Regions from separate parts of the Homo sapiens genome. Here region 1 is linked to region 2. Evidence: promoter capture Hi-C in 16 types of primary human blood cells and fetal thymus (Javierre and others, 2016). All regions are on one chromosome and are shown on one strand. Each heading gives the region's core, a stretch centred on a gene start or on the middle of the fragment in contact. The rest is flanking DNA. Distances are from core to core; before and after follow the strand shown. Region 1 has its middle 16 kb from the start of GABRR3. Region 2 holds the start of CPOX (coproporphyrinogen oxidase).

Region 1 (5,467 bases), core at 2,688-5,187, 540 kb before region 2:
AAATGTAAAGCACGTTATAGAATTTTAAAGTTACCGTTTAAACTCTGCAATGCCATAATTGATTCTGGCAAGGAACATCAAATGATGTTAAAAATCTTAGCTAAAAAATTGATAGGTCAAATGGTATTTCTGGTTCTAGATCCTTGAGGAATCGCCACACTGTCTTCCACAATGGTTGAACTAGTTTACAGTCCCACCACCCGGGCACACGTATACCTATGTAACAAACCTGCATGTTCTGCACACGTATTCCAGAACATAAAGTAAAATAAAAAAAAGAGAAGGTTCTTGAGCTTTGCATTAAAGACATCTAGTTGAACACATATACACATATTTTGTCTGTTCTCTCAAGGTAACAACAACAAAAAAGTATAAACCTACAACAACAAGGAGACTGGGAGGAGAGAGGAGTGTGAGAGGGAGGAAGGAGAGAGAAAAAAATGATGGGGACCTGGATATTCTCAAAGTGCCAAAGTATAATGTAATTAACTACTTGCTATATGTAAGGGACAAATCATAACGCTACAGTAGGAAGATCTGGCTGTTACTGCAATAAACCAGGGATTGGGTTTAGCCTCACTGTTAGTGAGACAGACAGACATTATGTGGTTCCTGATGCAAGGCACTGTGAAGGAATGGCATCTTCTATGTAGCATATTGTTAAAAAATGCTTAATCAAGCCTTTGAATATGATTTTCACTAGGAAAAGAAAAATACAGGAATTAGGAAAACAAGTTAAAGAATGCATATTAATCCAGAATGGGAAACATTTCACCAGACAATTTTATAATTGGCCCAGTCTCTCCAAAATATCATTTTCATTAAAAATTAAAAAAGAAAAGGAAGAGGAAAGAAATGAGACTGTTCTGGGTCAAAAGAGTCTTGATAGAGACAACAAATGCAATGTGATGCTGTAAAAGATAAGAAACAAATGGAGAAATTTGAATATATACTAGTTATAAGATAGTGTTGAGAGAATACTGTTAATTTTGTCAGATGTCAGTATGGTACCGTGGTTAGGAAGGAAAATGTCATTTTTGAAAAGATGCAGCCTGGAGTGTTTAGTTGTGAAATGTCACGATGTCTGTTATTTTCATTAAAATGTTAAATGTTTCTCTTTAAAACATGCTATACCTATAGTTTTTGTCGTTCTAGAAGATGTGCCTCATTTGCTTAACCTAAATCACTATTTTCTGGTCTCCATGACAACTTGCAGATGGCTTGAGTTGGTTGTAAAAGTTATTTTGTGTACAGGGTTAAGTTGTTATTGTCAAGAATTTGGCAAATCAACAGCACATATCTTGATTTTCTCACTCAGAATGCGATTCTCTTACAAAACAGCGTTGCTGCTTTCCTTGTGAATAATTAAAATAAATAACAGAAATAACTGTCTGGGCACAGTGGCGCATGCCTCTAGTCCCAGCACTTTGGGAGGCCGAGACGGTGGGGGATCACCAGAGGTCAGGAGTTCGAGACCAGCCTGGCCAACATGATGAAATGCTATCTCTACTAAAAGTACAAAAATTAGCCTTGGGTGGTGGCTCACACCTGTGGTCCTAGCTACTCAGGAGGCTGAGGCAGGGGAATTGCTTGAACCGAGTAAGCCGAGGTTGCAGTGAGCTGAGATTGCACCACTGCACTCCAGCCTGGGAGACAGAGTGAAATAATTAAAGTCACCACCATTTAATGATTCCTTACCTATCTATCAAGTACAGGGGTGAGGGCTTGACATTCATCTTCTCATTTGATTCTTGCAACAACTTTGTAAGTGCACATTATTAACTTTATTTCACAAGTGAGGAAACCAAGGTTTAGACATTTTAAGTTATTTGACCAAAGTCTCAGAAGCAAAGCCACCAAAACTGCCTTTTCCAAAGTCTGTGCTCTTAATCAGCTTTGCTATTTTTCCTTCCCCATGTCTATAAACAGACGCTCCAATTTTAGTGAATATACCCACAGTGAACCTTGATGACGTTAAACATGGTTTCAATTGTTAAAGTAACTTTCTGATAAATTGCAATATCTGGCATGGAACATGAACTTCCTTTTTTTTTAAAAAAAAAATTATGTTGGCTTTTTTTTTTTACACATTTGCTTTTCCAGATAAATTAGAATTTTCTAGACAAATTACCTCCGTATGATTTTGTATAAAATTATATGAAATTTATGTTTATTTGTGAAAGTTAAGTTTTAATAGATTGAGCTTTCCTATTCAGCCACAATTATGGAATTTTATACATTATGCCGCTTACATATGGGAAAATGCTCAACATCACTAATTATGGGGGAAATGCAAATCAAAACCACAATGCGATACCACCTCACTCCTGCAAGAATAAAGAAAAAAAAATTAATGTTGACGTGGATGTGGTGAAAAGAGAACACTTTTACACTGTTGATGGGAATGCAAACTAATGCAACCACTATGGAAAACAGCGTGAAAATTCCTTAAAAAATTAAAAGTAGGCCGGGCGCGGTGGCTCATGCCTGTAATCCCAGCACTTTTGGAGGTCTAGTGGGGTGGATCACGAGGTCAAGAGATCGAGACCATCCTGGCCAACATGGTGAAACCCTGTCTCCACTAAAAATACAAAAAATTAGCCGGGCGTGGTAGTGGGCGCCTGTAGTCCCAGGTACTCGGGAAGCTGAGGCGGCGTCAACCCAGGAGGCGGAGCTTGCAGAGAGCCGAGATCGCACCACTGCACTCCAGCCTGGGCGACAGAGCAAGACTCCGTCTCAAAAAAAAAAAAAAAAATTAAAAGTAGATCTACCATTTGATCCAGCAATCCCACTGCTAGGTATCTACCCAGAGGAAAAGAAGCCATTATATGAAAAAGATACTTGCACACACATGTTTATAGTAGCACAATTTGCAGGTGCAAAAATGTGGAACCAGCCCAAATGCCCATCAATCAACAAGTGGATAAAGAAAATGTGAGATAGATAGATAGATATAACGGAATACTACTCAGCCATAAGAAAGAATGAAAGAATGGCATTTGCAGCAACCTGGATGGAATTGCAGACTAATATTCTAGGTGAAGTAACTCAGGAATGGAAAACCAAACATTGTATGGTCTCACTTATATGAGGGAGCTAAGCTATGAGGACACAAAGGCATAAGAACGATACATTGGACTTTGGGGACTCGGTGGAAAGTGTTGGTGGTGGCGAGGGATAAAAGACTACACCTCGGGTACAGGTTACAGGCTACACTGCTTGTGTGATGGGTGCACCAAAATCTCAGAAATCACCACTAAAGAACTTATTCATATAACCAAACACCAACTGTTCCCCAAAACCTTTGGAAATAAAAAAAATTAAAAATTAAAAATCCCAATCGTTCTATGTATTTTTACTGTTGTTTTTCACTAACTCTAAAACTTTTCCTTAAATTTTCCATTATTGTGCCTTAATTTTGAGTTAACAAAGCAGAAGCTTTGAGAAAACGAGTTTCAGGCCTGCACAGACTTGGGAAGTGAAGACTTTAGCTACAGTTATACAGAATTGGTGACTAGTTAATAGAAATAAAAATATGTCACGTTGTAACACCTACTGGCTGGCCTTGTCATTAAACCTTAAGAGTTGTAAATCTAATACTTATAAATGTTCCCTTGAATGGTTGTATACTTAGGCCTACTGTTTTATAAGTAGGTAGTTCCTGCTTTAGATCAACAAGGCAGGGATTTGAATATGTAAAACATATTTTATGTCCGGAATTATGCAAAGTTTGTCATTAAAGACATGTATTGATGATACAGACATATTTTTTCACCCTGTGTTTCCACAGGATCTCGTTTAGTTTCCTTTCCATTTACTTTCCAGGCTTGTAAAACTCATGGATACACTTTTAGCTTGAGGCTTTTTCTGCATTGCCTTACCTATGTTTATGTTAGTCATTGCCTATTAATTTGGTTAATCCTTTCTCCCCATTTAATTTGTTATTTAAATAAAATTTATAATTTACTATTTAACTTATCACTTAAATTGAATCCAGATATTCAAAACACTGGCCATTCTTTCTACTATGATGTTTTTGTAATGTTTTATTCCACCTTGACTGTGATAGTCCCGTTTGTAATACCAAGAGGATCAGATCATTTTTTGTTCTAGAAAGATAAAAAAGTTCCTGAAAGAATGAGAAAATACACTTTTGAACCCAAAACAAAGTCTCATTTTCTAAGATTTTGGCATAAAATATACCGTGTACCTTTTGCTCTTAAAACACTTCGTTGTTAATACATTCAATTTTAAGGTACTTATGAGTGGCAGGCTATGGGACTAGTTAGTTCTTGTCTAGAATCTCCTCTATAACCCTCAAGAAATAATATGTATTTTAAAAAAATCTTACCATTTTTTCAGTGTACAATATACAATTTCTTACATTGATCCATTTATTAACTCATTAGTGATTTTGTGGTTTTCACTGCTTTTATACAAGCTTTTGCTTTTATGATCATCATAGTTTCTTATACCCAAGTCCTCTTTGCCTTACTGAAAAAGAATTCTGAGAAGGGCAGAAGCAAAAGCTTCCTCATGTGCAGTGCCCACCTGCTCTCTGTCTCTTTGTTCTATAGCAGTGTCTTCTTCATGTATGGGTGCCCCAGGTCTGGCCCAGATTAACAGTGGAATGAAATGTATTTTCCGTTCTACATGATTATAATTCCTCTGCAGACTCCTTTATTTACAGTATGAAAAACAAAGAAGTTTTAGGTACACTTAGAACAATGATAAAGAAATATTTTTGGAGAACACTTTCATAATTCTTTCCATTTCCTTTCTGTTAAAACAAATCGTAATAATTGTTTCTGTGTTTTACACATAGTAGGGACACAATATGTTAAGTGAATGAATAAAAAAATTTAGACTAAATATTCTTGTCTTAGTTATAAGTTATTCTGATCATTAAAATAGTTAATGAGCATTTAAGGACAAACACCACATTTTTGTTGTTGTTTTAAGTACATACTCAAGGATGAAGTTCAAACTGAAATTATAATGCCACATTACTGTTTTTGTAACATGAATGAAACACAAGAGTTCATTCATTTTACAAAGACTTAGTAACAAGTTTTTGTAACATGAATGAACTACATGAAATACAGACATACATGTTTTAGAACTTACTTGCAGTTATTTAAAGGAAGACCCCACCTATATAATTTAAAAAGTGTTCAAAGTATTCATGCACTTCTAAATAATTCTTGAACAAGGCATTTTTCAAACTTTCTCTTTAGCAGATATTTATAATAATATATCAGAATGTTAATAAAAATAATACTGTTAGGCCAAATATGACAACACATATCCTCTTAAAACATTTAAAACTAAGATTTCCATTTGGTTTAAAAGCAATTTTGAAAAGTAACATGTTTCATTGCCTCCATTGAAAGATATGTAAATGTAACAACAAAAATACTAAAAGTAATTCAAATTTCTGCAATATAGTTAGAAAATTTCTGAGTTC
Region 2 (5,007 bases), core at 1,238-3,737:
ATCTTGAAGTACACAGCTGATGCCGCCACCTCCTGTGTATAGAAATGTAAAAAAGGAGAGAATGTAAGAGTATGTGCAAAACTGAAAGCAACACTTGCATGAAGATGGTTATTTTCCCGTTTCCCAAATCTTTTATATCAGTGTATTTATCATTTTATGTACAATACAATTAGATAACTAGCTTAGCTTTATGACATATGCTATTAATATTGGGCAAATACTAGACCTTCTCATATCACTAAACTGAATATTTCTTCAACATTCTCCTGCCATCATCTAAAATAAATCACTGGAATATTCTCCCTTCAGATTCTACTGTTCAGAATGGCATCTATCAGTTATGATATATGAGAGAAAGCTAAGGTTAAAAATAGGAATGGGTAGACTTGAAGGGTGTTCTATTATTACTGAATTTAAGAGATCTATATTGTTTCAAAAATTTCTTTCTCAGTGGGCTGCTTGCCTTTTAATTTACAAGCAATTAAGAAACAGTAGGTAATCAAATTCTGAAGGGATTCAGAACCTTAGAGTGAGTGAGACGCACATTAGTATTCACGTGTATCAGCCTTACTAATTTTTTTTCTTAAGGTATTAGGGTCACTGCAAGGGCAATGTTTCATGAAAGTTCATGTTTGGCTTGTTTTATTTCTAAGAACATTTAGAGCTGGATGGGACATAAGATGATCCAGTACAACCCTCATATATTCCAAATGAGAAAACTGAGGACCAGAGGGGCAAAACATCTTATCCAAGATCAAACTGCTGACAAGTGGCTGCAACAATTTGTCTAAATGCTGTCTATGCTTCAGACAATATTCTAAGCACTTCACATATATTCCATCCATATATATATATATATATGTATATGGATATATATATATATATATGTAGTATGAGGATTAAAAGAGATGAAATACATATATATTTCATAGATGGGAAAACAGCCATAAAAAAGTAACTTCTGAGGATCACACAGCTGGTCTAGTACTTGAGGTTGTGTCCTGGTTCAGTGGTCTTTGCTTGAAAACATAAGATGGAAAACTAGACTGAACTTCATTTAATATAGATGTGTCAGTATCACAGCTCAAAATCTGCCGGTGAGAAGCTGCTGTTGTATTTCCAGCTAGGAAAAGTCAGGAATCTTTCAAGTTTCCACTCAAGATGTGGGGTTTCACTGTATGGGCAACAACATGGTCATGAATGTACGCCTCTACGAGAACTGGGTTTTGATGCTCAAGTATTTTGATATTGGAAGAGAAGATTTTCCTAGCAGGAAATCTGATGCGTGCATTTGGTAGTGCTACTGAGAAACGAATCAAATATATCTTGTGTAACAGTAAAAAGAAGTGGGAAGATTCTGACACAATGACATCCTGGCTGGAGGAGTTTAGCCGACACTTAGCGCACAGGAGATGAGTTCTTTCCATCTCCTAAAGAGGAAAAAGGGCAAATTCACCCAGAGAAGGAGAGAAAATGTGTTCCATAATCTATTGAAATTTATGTTCAGTAACGAACTTTGGACATCTAAGCTTGTTAGCTGCAAATACCCCTTAAGAGTTCTACAAAAAAATGCTGCTACGGAATTGCAAAGATTTTGAAATGCAGTACTACAGTGACAGCTGATCCGGGTCCATACCTGCAAGCAGAGGGCTAGTGACCCTTTCGTGTCCATCTTTTTATCAGCGGCCTCTAACCAAGCGGCCTCTCTGTGGGTACCCCCTACCTACCCCATCCCATATTGTGAACTATTATATTTTCTGTCTGCAACCTGGAACCTGACCCTTTTTCCCTGTCTCCAACTCCCGCCAGGGGCCGGCCTCCTTACCTTCCTTCCTCTCCCACCGGTCCACAGAAAAGTTGGCGCCCCCGTCTACCTGTGCCAGAGCCTGGCACACCTGGGCCTGGGTCTCCAGAATCAGCAGCTCCATCTTGGTCTTCATGTCGCCCGGCCTCCTTCGCAGCTCGCCCAGGTCGGTCACAGGCGGGGCCATGAAGCTGCTGCAGCGGTGGGCCAGCTCATCCTCCTCCTCCTCCGGCCTCCCCAGCGAAGTGGCCCGCGTCCCCGAGGTCTTAGGCAACATCTCCGCCCGCTGCACATGCCCGAAGGCGGCGGTGGCCAGCCCCACCAACCCCGCCAGCGCCGCGGCCAGCCCTGTCCCCACCCAGGGGCCGCCTCTCGACGTCGAGCCGTGCCCCAGCCCGCGGCTCTGCTCCGTGCCAGCCGGGCCAGGGGGCCGGCAGACGCGTCCGGCTGCGCTGCGCTGGGACCAGGCTCGGAGCCCTCCGCCGCCGCACTGGGACCAGGCGCGGGGCCCTCCGCAGCCGCCCCGCGCCACGAGCCAGCAGGGGCCCGAGCTCAGCCTGCCCAGCTGCAAGGCCATGTTCCCGCACTATCACCTGGAGCAGTGCCTGCGTCCCAGAGCCCTGCGTTTGAGCCCCCCACCCAGACCCCCGGAGTATTGAGCCGGCGAGCTGCACAGGCGGAAAGAACCTTTCGAGAAGAGCCGCTGCAGCGTCGGGCTCCGGAGGCGGGGGCGGGAACTGGGGCGCGCTGGGAGCTGTAGTCCGGATCCTATCGCCGCCTGCGGCGTCCCTGCGCGGGGCGGGAGATAAGAATCCGACGCGCCCAGAAGGGCTGGTCCGAAGGGAAGAGAGTGGGGCGGGGACGGTGCTGTGGAAGGGACGGGAGAGATAAAAGAGGCTTTCTTGTCACGTACAACCTCGGGTCGGCTGTTTACTCAGCCAAGGAGAGAAGATAGAGTAGGGCTGGGAGGCTGAGGGCGGACTGGGGCGGAAATGTGGCAGAGATCCCAGTCCCGCTTACATTTTCAAACAGGATTTGCGAATACAGAGCCTGGCTCAGGATCTGTATAGACCCGCCCTTCGCCCTGGGTCCTGGTCCTCTAGAGTTTTTAGAGGGGATGGGCAGGCTGGGAAACTCTTTGCTGAAGGATGGTTTTCTAAAGAGAGTGGGAGAAGCTAGTAATGGACTCGGAAGAGAGTCGAGGAGAAGACTTTCTGTGATCGAGTCCACATCACAGTTCTGTCCTTAAGATTTCCCCAGGCTGGGGCCGGGCGCGGTGGCTCAAGCCTGTAATGCTAGCATTTTGGAAAGCCGAGGCGGTTGGATCACATGAGGTCAGGAGTTCGAGACCAGCCAACATGGTGAAACCCTGTCTCTACTAAAACTACAAAAAAATAGCCGGGCGTGGCGGCGTGCACCTGTAGGCTCAGCTACTCGGGAGGCTGAGGCAGGAGAATCGCTTGAACCCGGGAGGCAGAGGTTGTAGTGAGCCGAGATCGCACCACTGCACTCCAGCCTGGGTGACAGAGTGAGACTCTGTCTCAGAAAAAAAAAAAAAAAAAAAAGGTTTCCCCAGGCCTTGCTTCTATAGTGCCTACTTGATTATTTTAGAAAAAGGAAAAGCAACGTGACTGTTTTGGTTAACCAGTAGAAAATTCCTGACTTGGTGTGTTTTGGTGATTAACAAATAAGAATTTAAAAAATAGTTATTCTACTACTGTAGGGTGCTCCCAAATATTGCTCACGTTTAATACTTACAACAACTGCTACAAACTAGGCAAGGCAAATATCCACACTTCCTCCTACTCTGTCTCCCTTCCCCCACCCTTTAAAGAAATGAGGAAAGAAGCTAATAGATTTGACAGGCAGGTCTTTGTCTCCCCTGTAACCATACCACAGCTCCATGGTTCCTGGACGTAAAAGTGTGAGAACTATTGTCATGGGCTAATTTGTCCCATAAGTCTCCGGGATGATTTTAATTTCTAGTAGTAGATAATAATTTAAGCCACTGGTAGCTTTTCCCACAAGTGTTTTCTTTGTGGCAGGATGCACTGATGGAACTTCAATGGCTTTTGAGTCAGATCAATTGGCATCTTGTCCACACACAACTGTACCTGGCAGCTCTCACTGGGACATGATGTTAGCAAGGTGGGTGTGCTTGCCGAAGCCTCACCACTGAGAATCTGTGAAAAGTAAAGGCTTGGATTGAGAAGTGACTAAGCGACTTTTAGGGAAGAAAAACAATTAGCTTTTGGTCATAGTGCAACCTGCCAGGAGGCCAAGTTAGAAGTGGAGGAAGGGAAATAAGAATTGTCATTGTAGGAAGGGTTGATGGCCTCTACTGGATGCCTGTGATGGGGTTGGGCTGGGCCTGGTGATGATAAATGAACCTCATCAAATGAAAAGGAACCTCCCTGGTACGTTTATTTGTAAGAAACCCCCTCATTATTGCTCTAATTCTGCTAAAAATACCCATAAAGTTAGTAAAGCCCATAAAGTTAGTTAAAGCTAAGTAAGAACAGACTGTTTTGAACATTTGCCCGGTCACAAAGGCTGATCCTGAGCAAATTGCATACTAGATTCCAGGTTTCCATCCCTCTCATCCTTAGCCTCTCTATACGAAGGGCCTCACTCCTTTCTTCCTCTGGTTCCTAGCACCCTCCCTACTGGCAAACTGTTATTCAATGCTTAAGAAAGGCTTCAATAACTTTGTTAGTGTGAGTTTAAATCACCTTTCTGGAGGTTCAAATTGTTCCCAAGTGGGATACTTATATTTAAGTTGTATTTGTCGGTATGGGGGAAGAAAAAAAGACATCACCTATCTAAGTAATTTCTTACATCAGAAAACTAGTTGGGACAAATAAAAAGTTTCTAATAAGTTGTAGAAAGTAAAGTGTAAAGTAGAAGTTCTTGTCTGTTTTTTAGCTTAGTTTCTTGCATTGCTTTCCAACTATTTTTTATGTGACCCTATTGCAAAGATGATTCTGCCTAGCCTTATAGGTATTAGTACATAAACATCATTTTTCAAACTCCACATGCTTCTCAGAATCCTTACGAACTTTTTCCTAAAGCCCTGTTGAACATAACTTATTTTAGGCCTGCTGGTGCATGTTAGAGAGAGTTCTAATGTTTATCCCTCTGGTAGCTTTACTGCCTTCTAACAACACACACACACACACACACACACACACCTAGAATTCTCA

Evidence for each region. Contacts are between HindIII fragments. The CHiCAGO score rates a contact against its expected background, and 5 or more counts as called.
Region 1: a fragment that was not itself captured here is called in contact with the fragment with the promoter of CPOX in region 2 in 6 of 17 cell types (activated CD4 T cells, total CD4 T cells, naive CD8 T cells and 3 more); the score reaches 9.1 in activated CD4 T cells.

What each region holds. Positions count from the first base shown.
Region 1 is chr3:98,049,002-98,054,468 of GRCh38, forward strand. It overlaps the pseudogene OR5BM1P. Among named protein-coding and RNA genes, the nearest start is that of GABRR3, 16 kb to the left of the region's middle. The HindIII fragment of the contact is 1,003 bases long and covers 3,437-4,439 here.
Region 2 is chr3:98,591,124-98,596,130 of GRCh38, forward strand. CPOX (coproporphyrinogen oxidase) reads right to left here and starts at 2,488. Exons shown (of 7, transcript NM_000097.7): 1 at 1,826-2,488; 2 at 1-32. The coding sequence starts at 2,381. RefSeq lists a silencer at 2,027-2,476 and an enhancer at 2,977-3,026. The HindIII fragment of the contact is 5,536 bases long and covers 1,528-5,007 here.